Regions from separate parts of the Homo sapiens genome. Here region 2 is linked to region 1. The links are contacts of gene promoters, found by promoter capture Hi-C in human tissues and cell types (Jung and others, 2019). All regions are on one chromosome and are shown on one strand. Each heading gives the region's core, a stretch centred on a gene start or on the middle of the fragment in contact. The rest is flanking DNA. Distances are from core to core; before and after follow the strand shown.

Region 1 (4,776 bases), core at 694-3,193:
GGCCACACACACAGTCAGCTTCCATTGCAGGGACACTGACTGTGGGAAGGGGTGGGGGACCCACAGAAACCAACCGGGGGAGGCCTGCCGCCAGGCAGGTCTGTGTGAGCCCGAGGGGACGTCCTAGCTGGCCCCTCTCCTCGGCCCTCCCTAGAACCACCTGCTTACCTTGAGTGTGTCACAAAATCATAGGTCGGCACCTCCACCGTTTTGCCCTCCACGATGTTCTTCAGAGTCCTGTGCATCAAATCATTATCAAAGGCATCTGCAGGGTTGGAGACAAAGGCAAGACAGGCAGATGCCCTCGTGCAGCGGACAGCAGGGAACCCTCTCTGCTCTGGGGTCAGCACAGCTGGGTGCTGGGGACACCGAGAACCCTAGCACAGGTAGACTAGGACTACGGCAGTGTATGTTTGGTAGCAACAGTGCCCTCTGCAGCCCTGCAGACCACAGGATGACCCTGTCCTTGCTGTTCTCGGGCTGTGCCACTGCCCAAGCTCTGTGCCCCTGAGATGCCGGAACACAGGGGTTTTCTGATCAGCTCTTCCTGGGAGGTGGGTAGGCTGGGCCTCTGCTTCTCTCTCTTTCTGGGACTAACTGGTTAGACTGCGGCTTTGCAGGCCTTCTTCCCACAAGTCCTTGGGAAAAGGCTGACCATGCCAGCCAGCCAGGGTGGAATCTTCTAGCAGTGGCAGGTGTCTCCCTGCCGCATCTGCCCGTTTACCTGGCCCGGAGCTTCAAGCCACCAGCACTAGTTTACCTACCGCCTCCCACACTGGCCTCTCTGAGGACTTTGCCCCAAAGCACGGGAGGGCACAGTGGGCAGAGGTGTGTGTGGAGGGCCCTAAAGGCCCCAACGTGGGAAGGGAAGATGGGAGGATTTCTCCAGGATCACAGTTGTGGCAGGGCAGGGCAGGGCTCCCCACAGTGCAACAGGCTTCCTGACTGGCTCCAACCACGCTCCTGGGGGGACACTCAGGGCCCAGAGAACTCAGCAAAGTTCCCCTGACTTCACTGTGCAGCCAACTCCACTGCAGGCTGCGTGGCGAGTTGGGGGAACAGCCCAAGCGGGTCTGCATCCATCCAACCTTGGGCCCAAGCGCAGCTGGTTAGCGGCCGCCCAGAATGGGGTCTGCCCTCCCCACATCGTTGGGCTCGCGATTTACCTGGATGGTCAAAATTGTACTGTCCTTTCAAGGCCTTGGCCTTCTGCTCTGCCGTCAGGACCTTGTAGAACCTGTCCTGGCTCAGGATGACCACCTTCCGCTGCCGCTGTTCCACCTCGTTCTGTCCCAGCAACTCCATGATCTTCTCACACACGGTCGACTGGAGACACAGAAGCGGGATTCCCGCCTGGAACCGCTCGTCCTGTGACAGGCACGGGGCCGGCTTCTGGAGACACTGACCCACCCGCCCCCTGGGGGGTATGCTCGGAAGGCGGGAGGACACCAACAGGTGTGGATGGTCTCAGCGGAAGGGCCGCGGGGGCCCAACGGGGTTAGCACGGACTTGGGGCTCCGAGGAGCCCGGCCGGCGGAGAGGCTGTGGGGGAGCCCCGAGGCCCAGCGCCCCAACCCCTCGCCCGCCCCAGCCCGCCCCGGCCCATCGCGGCCTGCAGCCCCTTCGCTCCCGCGCCCTGCCCCTGCCTGGCAGGGGGCCCCTCGGCCGGGGCTGGGGTCTCCTCTCTGGACCGGGCCGCCCGTAGGCACCGGCGAGAGGCGAGACCCCGGCCCGCTCGGCCCCTTACCTTCCCGCTGGCAGTGCCGCCGCTCACCCCTATCAGGAAGGGCCGCTGGTGCGGACGGTCGGCCTCCGGCGCGGGGCTCTCGCAGTCTTCGCCTCCCGCCGAAGCCATCTCGGCCTCCGCTCCCGCGCATCGGGTCCCCGCGCCCGCCCCTTCCCCAGGCCCGGCGCGCCCGCCCAGCGCCGAGGTCGGAGGCAACCGGAGCGATCACTTCCGGGAGGCGCGCGGGGCACGCCGGGAGTTGTAGTCCACCGGGGGGGGGGGGGCCGCGCATGCGTGAGGGTGCAGGGCCCGAGGCCGGCACACCAGGAGCGCCCGCGTCCCATTGCGCCGAAAGCTGGCTGGCAGGGACTGCTGCGCCCGGGCCTCGAGCCGGCTACAAGGTCTCAGACTCAAGTGGCCCGGAAGGTGCCCGTTCCGCACCCCGAGGCTGGGGCTGCGCCTTCGTCCGAGTGCTTGCCTCTGCCTCGCGCTGCCTCTGCGCCAGTCCCGGGCCCTCCCCCGGCCGCCCCCGGGCCTGGCCCCCTCCAGCCCAGGCTCCTCTTGGCCATCGAGGCCTCCGGACTGTCCGGACGCCTCCCACCCCACCCGCTGCTGGAGCCGTCGGGGCGCCCCGGAACGTGGCGGGGGCTGTCGCCTGATGACTTTAGGCTCGCGCCTACAGCGCGCCAAGGAGGCAGAGGCCCATGTGCCGGGTTCCATCCCTGCCGCCCCCCCGCTCCGTGCCTGGCACAGAGAACGTGACAGGCAAATTCTGATCCATTGAAATTATGGATTTCCAGCCGGGCGCGGTGGCTCACGCCTGTAATCCCAACACTTTTGGAGGCTGAGGCGGGTAGATCACGAGGTCAGGAGATCGAGACCATCCTGGCGAACACGGTGAAACCCCGCCTCTACTAAAAATGCAACAAATCAGCTGGGCGTGGTGGCGGGCGCCTGTAATCCCAGCTACTTGGGAGGCTGAGGCAGGAGAATCGCTTGAACCCGGGAGGTGGAGGTTGCAGTGAGCCGAGATGGTGCCACTGCACTCCAGCCTGGGCCACAGAGCAAGACTCCGTCTCAAAAATAAAAAAGAGAGAGAGATAGCTAAGGCTCGGGGCAGAGCATGCTTTTCATATACAAAACAGACAACCCCGGGCGGACGCGGTGGCTCACACCTGTAATCCCAGCACTTTGGGAGGCCGAGGCGGGTGGATCACGAGGTCAGGAGATCGAGACCATCCTGGCTAACATGGTGAAACCCCGTCTCTACTAAAAATACAAAAAATTAGCCGGGCATGGTGGCGGGCGCCTGTGGTCCCAGCTACTCGGGAGGCTGAGGCAGGAGAATGGTGTGAACCCGGGAGGTGGAGCTTGCAGTGAGCCAAGATCACGCTACTGCACTCCGGCCTGGGGGAAAGAGTGAGACTCTGTCTCAAAAAAAAAAAAAAAAAAAAAAAAGACCCCAAGTCTACAGCCCCAGCTACCTCCTTATCTAATTCTCGCCTTTGGAGGCAAGATTCTCCCTGCCCTAAGTCACCCAGGGCCAGGTATCAGGTGACTAGAGACCACTCTGCAGCCCAGAGCCTGCTAGAATTACTCAAACTAGCCAATTTTAAACTCTTTCCCTGCCCTGCCAGGCCTTTTCCATGGAAACCCCAAGAAAGCCTCAGGCCTGGGCTCTCCCCTCGCCCCTGCTTCTGCCTCCTGACCAAACCTGGGGTTCTCTACTGAGAACCGTGCATGGCATGGGTGCCCCTTCTCTCAGGAAATGCGATCAATCTTGCGATGGCTTTGGCCTCTCCTCATGGTCATTCAGCCGTACCTCTGTAAATTAAGCCCCAGGCACAGAACAGTGCCTAGCAAACAGCCACGCTGCTGGCTTAGATCTGTCCAGGTGTGTGTCCCAAAGGTGGCCATCCCCCAAGCCAACTTTGAATTTGTATCAAGGGAGAGTTAGACACGGTTTCTTGCCATTTCTTCCCCTGTGGTCCAGCCACGTAGCGAAAGGCAGGGAAACTAGCAGAGTCTGACCAGGGGCTGTCCCTGATACCCCTGGCCTGGGTCTCGTGTGCCCTCTCTGGTGACTGGCCACAAGGCATGGGCTGCCAGGGCCAGTCAGGCTATTGCGTGGTTCCGCTCCCAAGGCAAAGGGACGCTTTGGGAAGGAGCCACTCCCTGGGAGCAGGCCCAGCACCCAGGAAGCCCACAGTCCAGTAAACAAGGCCCGGGCCCACACGGCTCAGGCCTCTGGGCCACAGTGGCTCCCCTATGGGACCATCCCAACCACCACCAAGCAGAGGGCCAGCCCCAAACCTCTAGCTGGTCCCCAACTCCCCATATTGTGAAGAAGAGTGACTTTTATGGGTTTTTTTTGTTCGTTTTGAGACGGAATCTTGCTCTGTTGCCCAGGCTGGAGTGCAGTGGCATAATCTTGGCTTACCGCAACCTCCGCCTCCCGAGTTCAAGCAATTATCCTGCCTCAGCCTCCCCGAGTAGCTGGGACTACAGGCACCTGCCACCAGGCCCGACTAATTTTTGTATTTTTAGTATAGAGACAGGGTTTTGCCATGTTGCCCAGGCTGGTCTCGAACTCCTATTCACCTGCCTCAGCCTCCCAAAGTGCTGGGATTACAGGTGTGAGCCTCTGTGCCCAGCCGAAGAGTGTCCTTAAAGAAGCATGAGTCAGCCGGGTGCAGTGGTTCACGCCTGTAATCCCAGCACTCTGGGAGGCCGAGGCAGGCGGATCACTTGAGGTCAGGAGTTCGAGACCAGCCTGGCCAACATGGTGAAACTCCATCTCTACTAAAAATACAAAAATTGGCCGGGCACGGTGGCTCACGCCTGTAATCCCGGCACTCTGGGAGGCTGAGGCAGGCGACTCACGAGGTCAGGAGTTCAAGACTAGCCTGGCCAACATAGTGAAACCCCGTCTCTACTAAAAATACAAAAAATTAGCTGAGCACAGTGGCGGGCGCCTGTAATCCCAGCTACTCGGGAGGCTGAGGCAGGAGAATCGCTTGAACCTGGGAGGCGGAGATTGCAGTGAGCCG
Region 2 (4,776 bases), core at 611-3,110, 1.2 Mb after region 1:
TCCTGACGTTAATAATGCACTCTAACCAAGTGAGCTAACTAGGTACAGAATATACAATTTTATATGTATTTTGAGGGGAATATTCTATTCTCAGCTGAAACAAACAGCATTCTATATAAAACTACATAAATTCTTGAGCTTTGCTCTAAACTGGCAGAAGCTCTCTAATTCTCATAAGTTGGTATGTTGATACCTTGTGTTCTGTTGTAGCTTTTTATTAGGGAAACAACAATCATACACAAAAGGAAAGAGAAGGGTATAATAAACCACTGTGTGCCCATCACTTCAGAAATTATTGACTCATGGCCTTTTCTGTTTCATGTGTAGTTCCCTCACCCACCTCCCTCCTCCTGATGGATTATTTTGAAACACATTTTTGGGAACTTTTAAATTTTTACTGCAATTGATAATGGATATGCTGCTTAGGCAGGAAATCTGGAAGAGATTGAAACTTTAAAAATCTTACCCATTGACTTTGAGTCTAGCCATTTAAAGCTTTTGAGAAGAATGAGAAGCTACTGGATCTAAGAAGAGCACTGGAGTAGAGTTTTTCATAGATGAAAGACGAGGAGGATTTGACCAGTGTTGCCGCATTTTTATTTCTCAAGGGCATAGCATTTTTTAAAAATTCCTATTACTGTAATTTTATGAGAGAATATTTTAACATTAACAATGTATGAAGAACACATTCTCGGAATATACTCCTTTCTTTAAATTGAATAAATTTAGCTTTATGAAACATTCTTCATTACCCTTATTTTCCTGTTTCATTACATTTAACTTTGTGAACCACAAGTTTAGTCCAGCCTCATTTGGAATGATAGAAACCGAAGCCCAAAGAAGTGAAGTGCTTTGTCTAGGGATATGTAGCTGGTTTATTGCAGAGGTGGGACCAGAATGCCCGTCTCTCAACGCTACAGTCCGGTATTCATCCCTTTTGACTGTCTTTTCCGAAGCTAACAGTTGATACCACTTGTCCTCCTTTTGCAGATCCCGACTGGATTAAGAGGTTACTGCAAAGCCCCTGCCCTTTCTGTGATTCTCCTGTCTTCTAAATAATCAGTGACGGGAAGATGGAAGGGCATGATGAACTCTGCCATAGAAAACTTCCTCCAGCCTGAAGAGAAGGATGCACTGGAGGAAGCCGGACCCTCACGAGTGGAGAGAAGTCCTTGGTGATTGTAAAGAGGGCCCCTGGAGCTCATTTCTGAATCGCACTCTCCATTTCCAGAGACTAAAGGATGTCCTTTGAAATGGCTGGACTCAGAGAGTTGGAGTCGTTTTGAGATGAGCATTAGCCCCAGCTTTGTAACCAATGAGGAACACTTACTTATTTTTAAGTATCTTGACAGAAGCAATTTGAACACAGTGTCCCGTCATTTCTAGAAACAGAATGGTCTCTTCTAGAGAGCTTGGATAAGGACCTTGCTGGGTTGAGTTAGGTTTTAATCCTTGCTTTGGTTTGGAACTGCCTTCGGGCTCCAGAACTTAAATTGCTTGGTCCGTGGCATCTGATGTACCAACAGAGATTAAAAGTGTAAAGCAACACATGGGCTGATGTTTTGTTCTCAGAAAATAGCTGCTGGTCTGCATCCCTCCATTCTTGTTTTTTATGCATATGGAAAACATTTTCCTAAAACTCTATATTCTTAAGTTGAAGCCAAGACTAAAATTTAATGTGTCAAATGATCTGGTGACTATTATAATGAATAATTGTGACTTATTTTTCATTCTCTCCTGGGTCATCAGGTTTCCTGACCCAACTCCTTAATCCGTATAAAGATGTCAAATACTGTAGTTCACCCACGCCACAGCCCTGCTTCAGACTTAACTGTGGTAGCCTAGATGAGCTATTTGTACACAGAGGAAAAAAAGATATTTTCCTCTTTTAGTAATAAGACTTTCAGTATTTTTAATGTTGACATTTCCAGATGTTTCATTTAGTATCCAGGGGTCTGTCTGGAGACTTCTAGAGAGGGACAGCTCAGAAGTGAGACCCTTGAGCTCTGGTGCTGTAAGCTTGTGCAATTAAGTTGAACAGAGCCTGGGAATTTCTTTCCTCTGCACAGTCCCTTGATATTTGGAATCCAGGTTCTGCCCCCAACCCCTACCCACCCAGTGGTCTGTTAAGATGTCTCAGATGGGGCTGGGCTTGGTGGCTCATGCCTGTACTCTCAACACTTTGGGAAGCAAAGGCAGGCAGATCACAAGGTCAGGAGTTCAGCCTAACCAACATGGTGAAACCGTGTCTCTACTAAAAATACAAAAATTAGCCAGGCGTGGTGGTGCACACCTGTAATCCCAGCACTTTGGGAGGCCGAGGCAGACGGGTCACTTGAGGCCAGGAGTTCGAGACCAGCCTGGGCAATATGGCGAGACTCCGTCTCTACTACAAATACAAAAGTTAGCCTGGCATGGTGGCGCATGCCTGTAATCTCAGTTACTCAGGAGGCTGAGGCAGGAGCATCACTTCAACCCAGGAGGCAGAAGCTGCAGTCAGCCGAGGTGGCACCACTGCACTTCAGCCTGGGCAAGACTGGAGACTGCCTCAAAAAAAAAAGAAAAAAAATGTTGGTACTTAGATGATACCATGACGGCAACCTCCCCACCCCCACCCCGCATTGATAGGTAGTGCAGACCAGCCCTTGGAGGCACTTCTAAACAGTCTGCTCAGAAATGTTTTCTGTTTCCTATTCAAATTGCTGTTTTGTCTCCTATGTTTAATCATGTATTTGCTATTCTGCTTATTTTTCTCATTTGGTGGTAATTTCAAGAAGAGCGTTTATCCACTATTGATTTTCAAGAAAGAAACCAAGCAGCATTGAAATCATGAGTAACAGAATTCAGAACATTGTATGGTGGAAGTCATTTGTGTCTGCAGCTGTTTTTTCACTTTACAATAAATAAGAGTAAAAATTGAGATCATGTCAAAAAATTATTGCAGTTTTAATCATTATGGCATAGTTTCACTTCCCCTCCCCCCATTAGAATCAGTGGAGATTTGTTCTTACTAGGGAATTTTGGACTGCTGCCATTTAAAACTTAGGTTTTTATTTAAAGCAGTTGTGCATTTTTGAGAAAATGTATTGGGAGTAACTAGAGAGGATCTCCCAAATTTTTTTGTATGTCTCTCTAGGAGTAAACATGGCAACAGTTTTTCTAGAACGTGGACTCACTGCAGGGACTGGACCCAATGGCATTGTTAAGACCCTAAAATCTAGCCACCACCTGCCTCCCCCAGGTTTCCACACACCCAGTTGGAAGGCCTTTCCCTGCCCTTGTCCCTGTCTCACACCCATGGAGGTTAAGCTACAGAGCTGGGGAAACAGGAGATTTTGAGTTAATGGCAGCCTCACAAATAGTGCTTCTGAATTTCTCTGAGGGTCAGCATACCTCATGGGAGTGTGTTGCTCAGTGCAACCTTGGAAAAGTGGGAATGGCACCAGACGTTTTTCAGGTGCCTCTTGCAATTCAAACTTACATCCTCTATACCGTCCTAAAATTTGCCTGATCTTATTTGGTAGATTTCAAGTTGCTTTCAGCTGTGACCGTAATAACTGTTTCAGGAACTGGAGAAATAGTGGAAGTGCTATTGCCGCGCTGCATGTAAAGCACAGGAGCAAAGATTCGATACAATTAGACCCTTTAAGCTACAACGTGGTTGCATTTGGGGAGTCTGATACCCACATAGGTATCACATTTTCTCTGCCTGGGGTTAATTTGTTCTTATTATTCTAGGTAAGAAATTGATAGCTTGTTATGCTTGGTACTCATTCTGAAATCCCTGTGTGTCCACCAGGCAGACTTCAAGCAATCTCTACCTACTATTATATCTGCCAAAACTACCAATTATTTTTCAATGTCAGAAGTTATTAGAGCCACTGGCAAAGCTCATGGTTGAATATGACATTTTTCTGCTTTTCCCTCTAAGAAGTTTTTGAGAATGTTAATGTTGAAGTATGCAGGCTGGACCTACCAGCAAGTTTAACACGTTAATTAGGTTAAAAAGAATATTAAAAGGCAATAATTAAATATTTCAATTATTTTGTAATTATAATGGTATCAAATAAGATGCAAAAGAAGTTGATGCTTATTGGTGCTTAAGAGAATTACAATACTGGTTTTATGAGCATCTTTTCTCTGCAACAGTTAAACTGCCTCAGAGTTTGTGAATTGCTGCAATTCCTGGAATGGAAACAGGAATTAGGGTCACTGGTTGATTGGCACAGGATCTTTCCATCGTTTCTGCTCCTGACCTCTCTCTCTTGCCTTTCCTTCCCCCAGACACCCTCTTGGTTTCCATTCCTTTAGTTCCCTCTGCTTTAGAACACAGATTACATGTTGGAAAGAAAAATGGATTAATGGTAAAATTTCTAAAAGCTAAATTGTACAGTGGGGTCTCACTTCCTAGAAGAAACTATTGGTAATATTTCTTTCTAAAGGTAATAGTATTAATTGTATCTGGTTTTCTTCAAAACTTAACTATAATTTCCTTGTCAGGGTGCTCAGTAGCTCTTGGTTTGACTTTGGGCTAAGGGATGTGAAATTTTAGCTCCTTCCCACCACCTGTTTCCCCTCACTCCCACCCCCAGCCAATATTCTTCATAAGCAAAAATTATGGTTAAGCTAAGCTGAATGGGTTATATTCAAAGTAAGTACAGACGGCAAATAGGCAGACAAATACAGGAATGTCTTTACAATTAGCCCACCATGGACTGTTTTGAGTCTCTGCATGGTTTCCATAATTCATTATGATGTATCTTTATGCTCTTTCAC

Evidence for each region. The method cuts DNA at HindIII sites, captures the fragments that hold promoters and counts their contacts. A contact is called where the count stands out against the background at its distance.
Region 2: a contact is called between a fragment that was not itself captured here and the fragment with the promoter of UCK1 in region 1, in 1 of the 25 tissues and cell types used here (hippocampus).

What each region holds. Positions count from the first base shown.
Region 1 is chr9:131,529,320-131,534,095 of GRCh38, forward strand. It overlaps UCK1 (uridine-cytidine kinase 1), which reads right to left and starts at 1,944. Exons shown (of 7, transcript NM_031432.5): 1 at 1,748-1,944; 2 at 1,167-1,326; 3 at 169-265. The coding sequence starts at 1,855. RefSeq lists enhancers at 1-395, 1,101-2,014 and silencers at 1,430-1,479, 1,680-2,039, 2,180-2,349. The HindIII fragment of the contact is 11,870 bases long and covers 1-4,776 here.
Region 2 is chr9:132,687,891-132,692,666 of GRCh38, forward strand. GTF3C4 (general transcription factor IIIC subunit 4) reads left to right here. Exons shown (of 5, transcript NM_012204.4): 5 at 991-4,776. The coding sequence ends at 1,055. Among named protein-coding and RNA genes, the nearest start is that of GTF3C4, 20 kb to the left of the region's middle. The HindIII fragment of the contact is 5,405 bases long and covers 1-4,563 here.